3 separate regions of the Homo sapiens genome follow, and all the other regions are linked to region 1. The links are contacts of gene promoters, found by promoter capture Hi-C in human tissues and cell types (Jung and others, 2019). All regions are on one chromosome and are shown on one strand. The core of a region is centred on a gene start or on the middle of the fragment in contact, and the rest is flanking DNA. Distances in the headings are between cores, read along the strand shown.

The links. The method cuts DNA at HindIII sites, captures the fragments that hold promoters and counts their contacts. A contact is called where the count stands out against the background at its distance.
Region 2: a fragment that was not itself captured here is called in contact with the fragment with the promoter of ZFP90 in region 1 in 2 of the 25 tissues and cell types used here (hippocampus and mesendoderm cells).
Region 3: a contact is called between a fragment that was not itself captured here and the fragment with the promoter of ZFP90 in region 1, in 4 of the 25 tissues and cell types used here (dorsolateral prefrontal cortex, lymphoblastoid cells, pancreas and 1 more).

The regions. Positions count from the first base shown.
Region 1 is chr16:68,537,196-68,542,324 of GRCh38, reverse strand. ZFP90 (ZFP90 zinc finger protein) reads right to left here and starts at 3,034. Exons shown (of 5, transcript NM_001305203.2): 1 at 2,846-3,034; 2 at 2,500-2,567. The coding sequence starts at 2,532. The HindIII fragment of the contact is 20,432 bases long and covers 1-5,129 here.
Region 2 is chr16:68,767,914-68,773,042 of GRCh38, reverse strand. All of the region lies in intron 2 of CDH1 (cadherin 1), which reads right to left. Among named protein-coding and RNA genes, the nearest start is that of CDH1, 33 kb to the right of the region's middle. RefSeq lists enhancers at 643-937, 3,148-3,292, 4,802-4,946, 4,806-4,950 and cis regulatory regions at 3,220, 4,874, 4,878. The HindIII fragment of the contact is 7,823 bases long and covers 1-5,129 here.
Region 3 is chr16:68,329,007-68,334,135 of GRCh38, reverse strand. It overlaps PRMT7 (protein arginine methyltransferase 7), which reads right to left. Exons shown (of 19, transcript NM_019023.5): 6 at 4,962-5,070. It also overlaps the pseudogene RNU4-30P. Among named protein-coding and RNA genes, the nearest start is that of PRMT7, 21 kb to the right of the region's middle. The HindIII fragment of the contact is 4,800 bases long and covers 681-5,129 here.

The DNA of each region.
Region 1 (5,129 bases), core at 1,785-4,284:
TTTGTTTTCACCTGCTTAGACTCTGCTCCTATTCAAAGGTGAAAACTCCACTGACTTCTTCCCACCGGCAGAATGTCCTGGTCCCTCTCAACTCCAAGCAGCCTCTGGACCTCCGCAACAACACTTGACACCAGCTCTCTTGCGCTCTACTTCTGCAGGAGACTGTCTGCTCCCACTAAATTAACTTTACAGTTAAGCAGTCACAGGACTCATTACTAATCTTTGCATTCCCCTGAGGGTCATGCTCAGGGAACCACTGCTAAAGGGAAATTTCTGCCTGAAAAGCCCCGTTTAGGACCAGTGTTCTGTTCTGTCCTTCATCCCTGGTTATCTGCAGCCTGAGTTAGATAACCCACATGGACATCATCAGGCCATTCAATGAGAATGCAACTGAGCCAGGGCGTTCAGGGAACATAGCTTGAAAAGTCAAGTTTACAGTGGTCCTTAAAATTCACTGCTCAGAACATGAATCCACTTTCACCACTAAAAAGGTATCCTCCCACTATGGAAAAGACCAGAGTCCCTGATGAGGTGTTAAGTCATCTAATTCTCACAAGCCTATGGAGGATACTTTGCATGTAAAGGGGATAACGATCATGATGTGCTCTGGCTCTCCTCAAACCAAGTAACTGTCTTGTTTTAGTATTGGCAGGTGTCTTACTCCTTAAGGCTCATCCCTGTAAAAACAGAAACATATAATAAGAAGTATATATATATATAAAAACGCAGGCCGGGCCCGGTGGCTCACGCCTGTAATCCCAGAACTTTGGGAGGTCAGGAGATCGAGACCATCCTGGCCAACATGGTGAAACCCCATCTTTACTAAAAATACAAAAATTAGCTGGGCATGGTGGCACATGCCCAGCTGTGGTGGCTCACACCTGTAATCCCAACACTTTGGGAGGCTGAAGCGAGCACATCACTTGAGCTTAGGAATTCAAATCCAGCCTGGAGAAACCCCATCTTTACAAAAAAAAACAAAAATTAGGCCAGGCGTGGTGGCTCACATCTGTAATCCCAGCACCTTGGGAGGCCAACGTGGGCGGATCAATTGACGTCAGGAGTTCGAGACCAGACTGGCCAACATGGTAAAACCCTGACTCTACTAAAATACAAAAAAATTAGCCGGGTGTGGTGGTGTACACCTGTTAATCCCAGCTACTAGGGAGGTTGAGGCAGGAGAATCACTTGAACCCAGGAGGTGGAGGTTGCAGTGAGCCGAGATCATGCCACTACACTTCAGCCTGGGTGACAGAATGAGACTGTCTCAAAAAATAAAATAAACCAAAAAATACAAAAATTAGCCGGGCATGGTGGCGTGCACCATGGCAGAGGTTGCAGTGAGCCAAGATCATGTCACTGTACTCCAGACTGGGTGACAAGAGACCCTGTTTCAAAAAAAAAAAAAAAAAAGGCATGATGTATTGTATGCTTAATTCACTATAAACTGCTCTTTTAAAGGACATTACTAAGTTGGTGTTTTTATCTTTTAAATTTTTTTTTTTTTTTTTTTTTTGCAGAGACGGAGTCTCACTATGTTGCCCAGGCTGGTCTCAAATTCCTGGGCTTAAACGATCCTATTGCCTCAGCTTCCCAAAGTGCTGGACTTACAGGTGTGACCCACTGTACCTGGCAACTTGGTATTTTTATTTGAATTGATCTTGATGTCTCACACACCTAGCAACTACAATCTGTCATTTTCCCTTAATTCTAAAGAGAATGTAGATTCAAAGATACAGATACCATCTGGATCTTGATGTATTTTCACCAATATGTAAATCAATGGATAACCTTAGAGTTGTGACGCTTCTAGAAAATGCCCCCTCTGCCACAAGAATAAATGGGTTCACGAATCAGCCTCACATTAAGGTGAAGGCTGGACTTCTGGCGGTGGGGAGTGAGTTGCTCTATTACATTTTTGTTAAAGCAGAAAAGGACAGACACAAAAAGCTCTGGGAGAATCAGCCCTGGTTTTATTTTTGGTTGTTTTTTATTTTGTTTTGTTTTTGCCTCCTTGCCCAAGAAAGCCCATCTCCAGCCTCTTCCTAGACATGTTCTAACCAGGCTTCTACGGCCCCTTACGGACTCTCTATGGGCCCTGGGTCAGAAGCTGGGGCTCCTCTCTCCACACTTGCCGACAGTCACTTCCTCCTCTACAGTGTTCCATCCTGTGACCCCACTCTCTCCATTTCTTATTGACAAGAGTTCAAAAAACTGGCGTGGCATTCAGGACTCTCAAAACTGACACTTCCCAACGCATCCAATCTCAACTCCTCCCACAAGATCGCACCACACTGGCCCTCTCTACCCCACAGAGCAGCCTCCCCTTTGGGAATCCAGCTCCCCAAAGCCTGGGGTTTTCCATGGCCAGGAGGCTCCGATCGAGCCAAGCAAGTAAGGGAGTCGCCAGGCAGAGAACAATGACTGCTCCAAACACCCTTGGGAGATGGGATGGATAGATGGATGGGATGCCCAGGAGGTTAGGAACGCGTTGCTCACCTGGGGCGCGGCGGTCGGAGGCCTCGGGGCCATTCCTGCCTCGCCAGGGCCCGGCTCCGGGGCAGGAGCTGGGGAGAAAGGACAGGGCCCACTCACCCCGCTGCAACACCGACCCCACCCCGCCCCGCCCCGCCCCACCTCCGCCCCTAAACCACATCTCCAGGGGAGATGGTGGCGAGGACCGTGGAACCAGCCCGGGCCTGCCGCTCCCCATCCCCGAAATGAAAGGCTCAGCGGCCTCCCGGACACCCCCCTCCGGCCACGCCCAGTCCCCTTCGCAGGGTGGTGGGCGAGGCCCGGCTGACACCCGCCAAACCCAGGAGGGGTCCCGCCCAGACCCGCGCACTCAGAATCACCGCCTCTGGGGGGCTCCGGATTTCGCGACCTCCGGCCCACCCAGAGCCTCGGGCAGCTCCTCCCGCCCCCGCCGAAGCCTCGGTTATCTCCAATTCTGATCTGCGGAGGGGCTGCCCAAAGGGGCCTCAGCCGCACCGGGGTCGGACAATGGCCGCAGCGGTGGGGCAGAACTGGAAGTGCGCCTGCGCACTCGGAGCCTCGCTCCTGCAACCCCGGGTCCACGCCGGGCGCGCGAACTACACTTCCCAGAGGCCCGCGCGCGCAGGCCCCGCCTAGGCGGCTTCCGAAGGCGCGTTAGGGACCCTTGCGAGGGCCGAGGGAGGCGGCCAGTGTGGCTCGAGTGTGCGTGTCCCTGTATTCCAGTCACTGTCCGCCTCCTCTTTGCAAGGGGCTTGTTGCTAGCTGGGGAATCGGCCGGGAAAGACCCTGGTTTCGGGGAGCAATCGTACGCCCCTTTCGACGAGGCTGACGATAAAAACGCAAACATGTCAACAAGATAATGTCAGGTCCTGACTTCAGCGGTAAGAGTGACACAGGAAGGGAGTGAGACAGCGTCAGAGGGTGGGGCATTTACATCTTCTTCAAAAGGCAATTTTCCATTTCTCATTTTAGAGAAAAAAGAAACTTCGGACAAATCCGTGGCCTCCTGAGCAATGTGCAAAGGCAGATCTACTGCCGTGTTATTTCATTACTTCGTATCCCCTTACGCAGGATTTTGTTTGGGACAAGCAAACAATGATGGAAATTTTCTTTTTTTTTTTTGAGACACAGTTTCGCTCTTGTTGCCTAGGTTGGAGTGCAATGGCGCGATTTTGGCTCACCGCAGCCTCCGCCTCCTGGGTTCAAGCGATTCTCCCGCCTCAGCCTCCCGAGTAGCTGGGATTACAGGCATGCGATGCGTCACCAGGCCCGTCTAATTTTGTATATTTAGTAGAGACAGGTTTTCTCCATGTTGGTCATGCTGGTCTCGAACTCGCCTCGGCCTCCCAAAGTGCTGGGATTACAGGCATGGGCAACCGCGCCCGGCCCGATGGAAATTTTCAACACAAAGATAGGTCAACTTTTAGATACAGCTATTACGTTTATGTAATTATGTCTTATATATCACAGACATTCAGGCTACATTTCCTAGATTTCAGCTTGATTTCTTAACATTAGAGCATTGCATACCAACATGGTAGAAAATGACTGCAACGAAATGTTCCTGATGTCACACTGCTTTATCAAAAATATGAACATTCAAAAATAAATGCTTTATGCCGGGTGCGGTGGCTCAAGCCTGTGATCCCAGCACTTTGGGAGGCTGAGGCTGGCGGATCACCTGAGGTCAGGAGTTCGAGACCAGCCTGACCAACATGGAGATAGCTCGTCTCTACTAAAAATACAAAATTAGCCAGGCTTGGTGGCGCATGCCTGTAATCCCAGCTACTCAGAAAGCTGAGGCAGGAGAATCGCTTGAATCTGGGAGGCAGAGGTTGTGGTGAGCCGAGATTGCACCATTGCACTCCAACCTGGGCAACAACAGCAAAACTCCATCTCAAAAAAAACAAAACAAAAAAGGGAGAAAATTTCCATCACTGTTGGCTTGTCCCAAACACAAAATCCTGCGCAAGGGGCTAACAAGTAATGAAATAACACGTCAATAGCACAGGGAGGCTGAGGAGGGAGGAGCCCAGGAATTAAAAGACCAGCTTGGGCAACATGGCAAAACCCTGTCTCTACAAAAAATACAAACATTAACTGGTTGCAATAGTGTGCGCCTGTGGTCCCAGCTACTTGGGAGGCTGAGGTGGGAAGATCGTTTGAACCCGGGAAGCAGAGGTTGTGGTGGGCTGTGATTTCACCACAGCACTCCGACCTGGGCGACAAAGCGAGACTGTCTCAAAAAATATATATAAAAATTAATGAATGCTTTCTATCACTGCTTTGTGAATATAGTGGTCTGGAATTAGCAGAATGCATAATTCACAAGTATGAATTAGAGTGGACCGGGAGGCCTCTCTGAGGCAAGTGACTTAGTAGCTGCAACTTAAGGCAACTGCAGGCTGGGCATGGTGGCTCACGCCTGTAATCCCAGCACTTTGGGAGGCTGAGGGGGGCAGATCACTTGAGGTCAGGAGTTCGAGACCAGCCTGGCCAACATAGTAAAACCCCATCTCTACTAAACATACAAAAATTAGCAGGGTGTGGTGGCGTGCGCCTGTACTCACAGCTACTTGGGAGGCTGTAGCAGGGGAATCGCTTGAACCTGGGAGGTGGGGGTTGCAGTGAGC
Region 2 (5,129 bases), core at 1,033-3,532, 230 kb before region 1:
ATTTCCACAAGCAAAATTCTTTTTGTCTAATGTATTACGATGAAGTTCTTGAGTGCTGAGCTCCTAAACCCACTTTCCCATAAGCCTGGTGGTTTTGGTTTTTGTTTTTGTTTTTTGAGACTGGGTGTCACTCTGTTGCCCAGGCTGGAATCCAGTGACACAATCATGGCTCACTGCAGCATTGACCTCCCAGGCTCAAGCGATCCTCCCACCTCAGCCTTCTGGGTAGCTGGGACCCCCAGGTAATTTTTTTGTACTTTTTGTATTTTTTGTTAGGATGGGGTCTCACTCTGTTGCCCAGGCTGGTCCTGAACTCCTGGGCACAAGCGATCCACCTGCCTCGGCCTCCCAAAGTACTGGGATTACAGGCTTGAGCCACCGTGCCCAGCCTAAGTCTGGTGTTTTTCATGGGCAATTTGACATAGTGTGGTGATTTTGAGGAAGACCTACATCACAGGGTATGGAGTGAAGTATATATAAGATCTGTATACGGTGCGGGTTAGCCCAGAGCCAGGCCAGTTGTAAGTGGTCCATAGATGTCAGCTGTGACTGTTCTCTCGCTCTGAATGTAGACAGAGCCTGGTGCATAAAAGATGCCCAGTGAACATTTATTGAATTTTCCTTGATGGGTCTATGGCTTATTAATCTTAGTGAACTAATTAAAGAGACTTATCTATCTCTCCCATATGTTGGAGAGGGACAAACCATAAATTAGAGAGGAAGCTTCCAAGTTCTAATGGAGCCCCGCCCTTCCATGCATGGCACGAAGAGGATAAGAAAGGCAGTGTCCCTGTCTGCTAGGCCTGCCCGATTAGGTGGTAAGCAAGGCAAGGACATATGCGATTGGCCGTTGTGTGGCAACACGGGGCCAATTTTGAGATAAGGAGCCTAGACCCTGAGTCCTTAAGTCAGGGTCCCAGTGTAGCATTAAGTGGTTGAGAGCCCCAGGTCAGAGGTCAGACGACCCAAGTTCAAGCCCCAGATCCACTTATCAACTATGCCACCTTGGGCATGTGATTTCACCTCTCCTGCCTGCCTCGATTTCCTCATATGCAAAACAGAAATAGTGATGGTCTCTATTTCCTAAGGGGATGGGATGATTCAACAAGTTAATCCACGTAAAGCCCTTTAGCACTGTCAGACACAGAATAAAAGCTCAATGGGCTAGGCACGGTGGCTCGCGCCTGTAATCCCAGCACTTTAGGAGGCAGAGGCAAGAGGCCAGGTATTTGAGACCAGCCTGGGCAACATAGTGAGATCTCTTTACAAAAAAAAAATTTTTTTTTTTTTTTGAGAGGGAGTCTTGCTCTGTCGCCAGGCTGGAGTGTAGTGGTGCGATCTCGGCTCACTGCAACCTCCACCTCCTGGGTTCAAGCGATTCTCCTGTCTCAGCCTCCCTAGTAGCTGGGACTACAGGCATGCGCCACCACGCCCAGCTAATTTTTGTATTTTTAATAGAGACGGGGTTTCACCATGTTGGCCAGGATGGTCTCGATCTCTTGACCTTGTGATCCACCCGCCTCCACCTCCCAAAGTGCTGGGATTACAGGCGTGAGCCACCGCGCCCGGCTACAAAAAATTTTTTTAAATTAGCCAGGTATGGTGGCACGTGCCTATGGTCCCAGCTACTCGGGAGGCTCAGATGGGAGGATTGCTTGAGACTAGGAGTTCGAGACTACAGCGAGCTGTGATCTGCACTGCACTCCAGCTTGGGTGACAAAGTGAGACCCTGTCTTAAAAAGAAAAAGAAAAAAGGGCTCAATACACATTAGCTGCTATTCTGGGATTCTAGGGCTGAAAAAGAAGATCAGAGCCTGCGTAGGAAAGCGTAGGTGTGAGTAGCAGCCAGGGAAGGTCTGAGTTGCCTGGGACTGCAAGGCAGAACAGCCAGGAGCTAACTTCCACCAACCACGCGCCCCGAACCCTTTCTCACACACCAGCCCGCACTTAGCCGTGTCCATGGAAGAAATGAGAATCAGCTCTGTCTCCTGCACATCATTTCCAAAAGACGGGAGAGCCTCCTCCACTGGCGGGGAAAGGATTCCTATGGAACCTGACGCAGGAGTTGGCTGCACGGTCTGGTTTGCATCACTTCGTCTCGGTGGAAGCTGATGGAGGCAGAGGCACTTATCTGTCCTTCAGAAGATAAGGTCTAAAAAACTAGAGACCAGCTCTAGCCTCTGCCTTCCCCTCCCAGCTTATCTCCCGCCTGTGAGCCCATCTACCCACCAGGCCCTGCCACACTGGGCCTCTTGCCCACTCCACACACTGCGCTCCTTCCTGTCTCAGGCTCTCAGCCCTTGCTGTTCCTCTGCTTGGAATTCTCTTCCTACTGCTCTCTTCATGGTGTCCTCCTTTCTACCACTAGGTACCACACAAACATCCTCCTGCCTGATCCACTCCTCAGCTAAAGGGGCCCTGCACCACTACCCCAGGCACTCCCTACCCCGTTTCACTGCTTTACATCCTTCTAGAATGTGCTGCCCTCTGAAATCCTTATTTATTGCCACGTTCCCTGAAGGTGCGAGGCTGGTGCCTGGCCCACAGCAGGCTCTGAATGAATCTGGATGTCAACTGGCTGGTACCCACCTGAAGGCAGAGGCAGAGTCATTCAGCTGTCCATGAACATCCCCTAAGGGCCCTCTATGTGCTGCGGACTGAGCTTTGGGCTCCGGGAGTGGGGATGGGACACAAGAGACCCAAATACTTACCTCTGAGGTCCTTCCAGGCACAGGAAAAGATGTAGTCAGAGGGGGTCTAGCCAGGCGATGTCTTGTGGAAGACAGGCCCAGTCAGGAAGGTGACAGTTTTAGGACAGGAGGCAGAGCTCCCCAGAGCACACACCTGGTGGTGGCAGAGAGGGCTAGGCCAGGTGGCCCCAAAAGCCCTTCCAACTTTATGATTCTGAGGCAAAGATGAAGAAAGCAACATAATAGTAGCCAAGAAAGGACCCCTAATTGACAGGGAGGAAAGGTCTCCAGATAGACTTGGACCTGAAAACAACCGGGGGCATGACAGCAGCCATCAGAGGCTACCATTTTCTTTAAAAAAAAAAAAAAAAAAGCCAGCTGCGGTGGCTCACACCTGTAATCCCAGCACTTTGGGAGGCCGAGGTGGGCAGATCATGACGAGCTCAGGAGATTGAGACCATCCTGGCTAACACGGTGAAACCCCGTCTCTACTAAGAATACAAAAAAATTAGCCAGGCGTGATGGCATAAACCTGTAGTCCCCAGCGTGAGCCACCGCGCCAGGCCCCAGCTAATGTTTTTATCTTTTGTAGAGATGGGGTCTCCCTATGTTGCCCGGGCTGGTCTTGAACTCCTGGACTCCGGCGATACTCCCACCTTGGCCTCCCAAAGTGCTGGGATTATAGGTGTGAACCACCACTCCCAGCCATGGATAAAATATTTTAATTATGAAATTACATGTGCAGGTTGGGCACAGTGGCTCATGCTTATAATCCCCACACTTTGGGAGACTGAAGCGGGAGGATCTCTTGATCCCAGGAGCTCAAGACCAGCCTGGGCAACATAGTGAGACCCTGTCTCAATTAAAAAGAGGAAAAAAAAAAAAAGAAATTCCATTTGCAGAGGGTTTTCTATGAACACCTGATAGGCCACGGTACAATTTAGAGGCATCTTACCATGTGCTGCCTCAAAGGAATCAGAAAGCAGCCAACAGACATTGAAGTAGGAAGAGCAAGAGCATGATTTTGAAAAAAAGTATACACATAAATCTAACTGTATGAAACATTTCTATAGGCATATTTCAGTAGTTATTGATATAGATGTATTTGTAATGAATACAGAAATAGCTGTGTGGAGTCATTCAAATATCTGAGGACCTCCTCTATGCTGGGCAGAATTCTGAGCCCAAGCCCTAGAAGTACAGCAATGAACAAAACAGACCCACCCTCAAGGAGCTCATATTCAAAGAGAGGGAGACAAGCAGATCATGAAATTGAATAGTAATCAGTGCCATGGAAAAAAGGCAGGGTAGGCGGTACAGTGACAAGGGTATAGATGTGAGCTATTATCCAAGACAGACTCTGCTGAGAACTGGGGCAGTTTGAGCAGAGACTGGAAAGAGATAAGCAAGAGTGGCATGAGGATGCCTGGGGGAAGGGTGCTCTGGGCACAGGGAACAGCAGGCACCATGGCCCTGAGGCAGAGAGTGTTGGATAACGATTTACTTTAGTAAAATGCCATTACTTATACTTGCATTTATATTACAACATATAAGATAATAATAGAGACCTTACTTCTAGGAGGATGTATACAAAAATGTTCCCCGGTGGTGATATCTAGATAGTGACTTTACACACAATTTAAATATTTTTGTTCTTTTTATTAAGAGATGGTATCTCCCTATGGAGGCTGGACTTCAACACTTGGGCTCAACTGATCCTCTCACCTCAGCCTCCAGGGAACACCTGGGACTATAGGCATGTACCACTGCACCCAGCTTTTTTCTTTTAGCTATCTATATTTTCCAAAGTTTTCCCCACAACTAACATGTATTAGCTGCAAAATGACAAATATCAATGGAAAGTCCAAGGTATTAAGAGCTGTTGCCAAAATCACATGAAGGTAAGAGCTCTGTGGAGAAACTGGATCCTCTCTAAGGAACAGATTTATGCTTAACTCATAGAAACCTAATTACGCAACTGATCTTGTTTTCCTCTTTGCTCAGAGTCAAATCTGTGGTCTGCTTTTAGCAGGGATCTAGGTCTGTGGCAAACACATCACTATCCAACCTTCTTCCTATACTCATCTTTTTTCTTAAATCGTAATTAAGCCGGGCGCAGTGGCTCACGCCTGTAATCCCAGCACTTCGGGAGGCCAAGGCGGACAGATCACCTGAGGTCAGGACTTCGAGACCAGCCTGATCAACGTGGAGAAACCTTGTCTCTACTAAAAATGCAAAATTAGCTGGGTGTGGTGACGCATGCCTGTAATCCCAGCTACTTGGGAGTCTGGGGCACTTGAACCCGGGAGGCGGAGGTTGCAGTGAGCCAAAAGCGTGCCATTGCACTCCAGCCTGGGCAACAAGAGCAAAGCTCCATCTCAAAAAAAAAAAAAGTAATTAAAATATTTTATAACATATTTTTAGAGATGGGGGTCTCTC
Region 3 (5,129 bases), core at 1,831-4,330, 210 kb after region 1:
ACATAACTACATAATGATTTAATGATTGCAGTGGTAAGCGCTATGAAGAAAAGTATTACGAAATTGGCCAGGCGTGGTGGTTCATGCCTGTAATCCCAGCATTTTGGGAGGCCAAGGCAGGCAGATCGCTTGAGGTCATGAGTTCAAGACCAGCTTGGCCAACATAGTGAAACCCCATCTCTACTAAAAATACAAAAATTAGCCAGGTGGTGGTGCATGCCTGTAATATCAGCTACTTAGGAGGCTGACGTGGAAGGATCACTTGAATCCGGGAGGTGGAGGTTGCAGTGAGCCGAGGTCATGCCACTGCACTCCAGCCTGGGCGACAGAGCCACTCTATCTAAAAAAAATTTTTTTTTTTAATAAGAAATCATATGAGGGGCCTGGCCTAAGCTGAGGTGTGTGTGAACAATGCTGCCTGGAGGCAGAGTCAGCATACTTCATGGCCAAGGCTGCCCTGCAGATCAGTCTCCCTGCCGTCAAAATGGATAAATTTTCAAGAATAAATGATCTCGCCAGGTACAGTGGCTCCCATCTGTGATCCCAGCACTTTGGGAGGCTGAGGCAGAAGGACTGTGTGAGGCCTGGCGTTCAAGACCAGCCTGTGAAACAAAGCGAGACCTAGTTTCTTTTCTTTTCTTTTTTTTTTTTTTTGAGCCAGAATTTTGCTCTTGTTGCCCAGGCTGAAGTGCAATAGCGCAATCTCGGCTCACCGCAACCTTTGCCTCCCAGGTTCAAGCAATTCTCCTGCCTCAATCTCCTCAGTAGCTGGGATTACAGGCATGCACCACCACACCTGACTAATTTTGTATTTTTAGTAGAGACAGGTTTCTCCAAGTTGGTCAGGCTGGTTGCTACTCCCAACCTCAGGTGATCCGCCAGCCTCGGCCTCCCAAAGTGCTAGGATTACAGGCATAAGCCACTGCACCCAGCCGCAAGACTTAGTTTCTAATAAAAATTTAAAAAAACAAAAAAATTAGTTGGGTATGGTGGCGCCTGCCTGTGGTCCCAGCTACTCAGGAGGCTGAGGCAGGAGGATCACTTGAGCCCAGAAGTCGAGGCTGCAGTGAGCTGTGTTCGCATCACTGTACTCCAGCCTAGGCAACAGAGTGAGACTGTCTCAAAAAAAAATAAATAAATGAATCAATCTCCACTCTGGCCATAGTGGAATAAGTGGGATCAGGCTTACCCTCCGGCTGTTATCAACTAGAAAACTGGGCAAAATATATGAAACAAGTGTTTTCAGATGTTGAGCAAGAGGCAACACAGTTTGCTCCCTAAGAAGGGAAACAAACCAAGTAACCCTTACCCTGCTCTGGCTATCAGCCAGGAGACCCTTTCCAGACCACAGTATAGGGTAAGAGGTGACACAGAGCACGGCAGTCTTGCTGAGTTAAACAGACAGGAAACGAGTTCAGGGAAGTGGAAGCAGCTGGAACTTGCCAGGCAGAGAATCAGAGAGGAAATTACACAGAAAAAAAGCCTTCAGAATGCTGCACAGGGTTCCTCTAGGGTCTGTGTTAATACATTCACACACACACAGGGTAATACTCTGTGAAGCCGAGCAAAGGTTGCATGAGTGATAACAATCTCCGGAGCTCTCAGAGGCCTGGGAAACATTCAAGTTCTGATCAGCCAGACAAGGGAAACCCTGCTGAGCACCTAGAGCTCTCAGCAGACACTCCAGAAAGGTTACAGTAACTGTCTGGCTAAACAGCCTTAGAGCAGTGGTTCTCAACAGGTGGCAATTTTACACACTCGAGACCAAGGAAGACGTGGCAGTCTGGAGACATTTTTAGTTGGCAAGAATGGTGGGAGGAGGGGAGTGCTACTGACATCCACTGGGAAGAGGCCAGGGACACTGCTAAACATCCTACAATGCAAAGGACAGGGTCCACAACAAAGAATTATCAAAATGTCACATAGTTGGAGAATGCCAAAACGTCACAGCACTACTGTTGAGAAGGCCTGACTTAAAGCTACTCTAACCCCACTCCAAAGAAAGCTTAAACAAGCCCTGAAAGGATCAATCTGAACTGCAAGTAACCCAACTGCATGCCAAAGTTTAAAAAGCAAAACCAACGAAGTCTAGCACTCAACAATGGGGAATTCCAAATAGCCACAGCATCCAAACAAAAATGGTTAGACATGTGAAGAAGGAAAATGTGACCCAGAATAAGGATAAAAATGAGTCAAGAGAACAAACCCAGAAAAAACAAAGATGGTGGGAACAGAAGATAAGGATGTTCAAAAAGCTAAAATAAATGTGCTTATAGAAAACTATGAACATGAGAAAAATGGAAGTTATGAAAAAGAATCAAGTGGAACTTTCAGAGATTAAAAAATACAATATCAAAAATGAGGCCAGGCACAGCGGCCCACGCCTGTAATCCTAGGACTTTGGGATGCTGAGGTGGGAGAATCGCTTGAGCCCAGGAGTTTGAGACCAGCCTAAGCAACAAACTGAGATCCCATCTCTACAAAAAAAAATTTTTTTTAAGTTAGCCAGGCATGGTGGCATGAGCCTGTGGTCCCAGCTACACAGGAGGCTGAAGCAGGAGGACTGCTTGAGCCCAGGAGGTCAAAGCTGCAATAAGCCATGCTCACACCCCTGCACTCCAGCCTGGGGGACAGGTCAAGATCCTGTCTCAAAAAAAAAAAAAAAAGAACAACAAAGAAAGAGAAATGAAAAGTTTACTAAATATACTTAACAGCATATTAGATGCTGCAAAAGAAAAGATCAGTGAATCTAAAGACCTATCCAAGAAATCCCTGTCCATCAACAGGTAGAGAGATAAACAAGTTATGGTACATCTATCTAATAGAGTGCTGCTCAGTAACACAAAAGAACGGACCCCCAAGACATGAACAGTGTGGAAGAATCTTACCAGCATCACGCTATAAAAAAGAGAGCACACACACAGAAGAGTCCACACTTCTTTGATTCCACTTCCTTGAAATCCTAGACAGGCAAATCTAATCTATAATGAAGTCTATGAGTGGGTGCCTAGGACCAGGATATGGGGGGACTGATAGAAAGGGTTATGAGGAATCTCTTTGGGCATGATGGAGATGTTCTATTATCTTCATTATGGTGATGGTGGTTACAAGTGTGTTTATATTTGTCAAATATCCATAATGAAAATGGATATTCATTTAATGTAAATCATACTTCAATAACGTTGATTGTAAATGGAATGATTTGAGCACTCTATTGTATATTTTAAAAATAAAAAAGATAGGCCGGGCGCGGTGGCTCACACCTGTAATCCCAGCACTTTCGGAGGCCGAGGCAGGCTGGTCACCTGAGGTCAGGAGTTCGGGACTAGCCTGGCCAACACGGTGAAACCCCGTCTCCACTAAAAATACAAAAATTAGCCAGGCATGGTGGTGCACGCCTGTAATCCCAGCTACTCATGAGGCTGAAGCAGGAGAATCGCTTGAACATGGGAGGCAGAGGTTGCAGTGAGCTGAGATCCTGCCATTGCACTCCAGCCTGGGCAACAGAGTGAGACTCTGTCTCAAATAAATAAATAAATAAGATAGTACCCACTTCTTTTGTACATGTTTCAGATTCTCCATTAAAAAAAAATTGTTAAATGGGAGAATAATGTTGACCTTAGGTAGAAGCTTCAATTCAGAATGATACTGCATTCTCCAAAACCGTGGTGAAAAAGCCAGGTGCAGTAGTGCACACCTGTAGTCCCAGGTACTTGGGTCGCTGAGATGGGAGGATCACTTTAGCATAAGAGTTTGAGTCCAGCCTGGGCAACATAGTAAGACCCTATCTCCACAAAAAATTAGAAAAAACCCATGGTGTTATCCATAACTTCACCACAGTTTTTCCTTTGCAAATCTTTCAACTATGTTCTCTAAGTGTCAGTGGCATGTGAAATTTTCAAAGACTGAAACAAAGTTCTAGACTATAAAAAATATTCTGGAGGCCAGGCATGGTGGCTCACGCTTATAATCCTAGCACTTTGGGAGGCTGAGGCAGGCGGATCACCTGAGGTCAGGGGTTCAAGACCAGCCTGGCCAACATGGTGAAACCCCGTCTCTGCTAAAAATACAAAAAGCAGCCAGGTGTGGTGGCAGGCACCTGTAATCACCGCTACTTGGGAGGCTGAGGCAGGAGAATCACTTGTACCCAGGAGGTGGAGGATGCAGTGAGCCAAGATTGCACCACTGCAATGCAGCCTGGGTGACACAGTGAGATTCCGTCTCAAAAAAAAAATATGTGTGTGTGTGTGTGTGTGTGTACATATACATATTCTGGAAACCTTAAGAGACAATGCTATACAGGAAAATTGTTCATGTTGTATGCAGAAGCAGAATGTCAGAACTACTCTCGCCATTCTCCTGCCTCAGCCTCTCCAGTAGCTGGGACTACAGGTGCCCACCACCATGCCTGGCTAATTTTTTGTATTTTTAGTAGAGATAGAGTTTCACCGTGTTAGCCAGGATGGGTGAACCCAGGAGGCAGAGCTTGCAGTGAGGCAAGATAGCGCCACTGCACTCCAGCCTGGGCGACAGAGTGAGACTCTCTCTCAAAAAAATAAATAAATAAAAGAACTAAGTACTTTCTGCCTGATGAAACTCAGAGTTGAGCTTTGAGCAGTGGCAGTATCGTAGCCAATGAGGTTTATCCAAGGCGTAATTATTGGTAGTTGAAACTCAAGAGTTGAGCCCCATAAGAATTCCAATTTGCTTAAAGCAAATGTAGGTTTTGTTTGCGTCTCCATTGCTGGACCTGACTAGCTCTAGTCTACTCCTTGTTGACTAGTTTTAACTAGCAGGAAAATAAACATCAAGAGAAACCAAGTCCTTACTGTCAGAGCTCCACACAGAGAGGTCCCACTTCTATGCTATGACCTGGATTTGTTCCAGGTAACTGGAATAACCCTTTTCCTCTCTCACACAAGAGCAAGCAAAGCTTTCAACACAGGGTGTGTAAATCTCACCTGGACCTACAGTCACCTCGGTGGAATGCTTGTTGATAACCTTAATCTTATCACTAAAGCCATTTTTCTCCACAATCTTCACAGCAGCATCAGCCATAGGCTTGAAAACCTAGAAAATAGAGCCGAAACCCAAGGAAAAATGAGCAATAAATTAAACAGTAGTCTGAC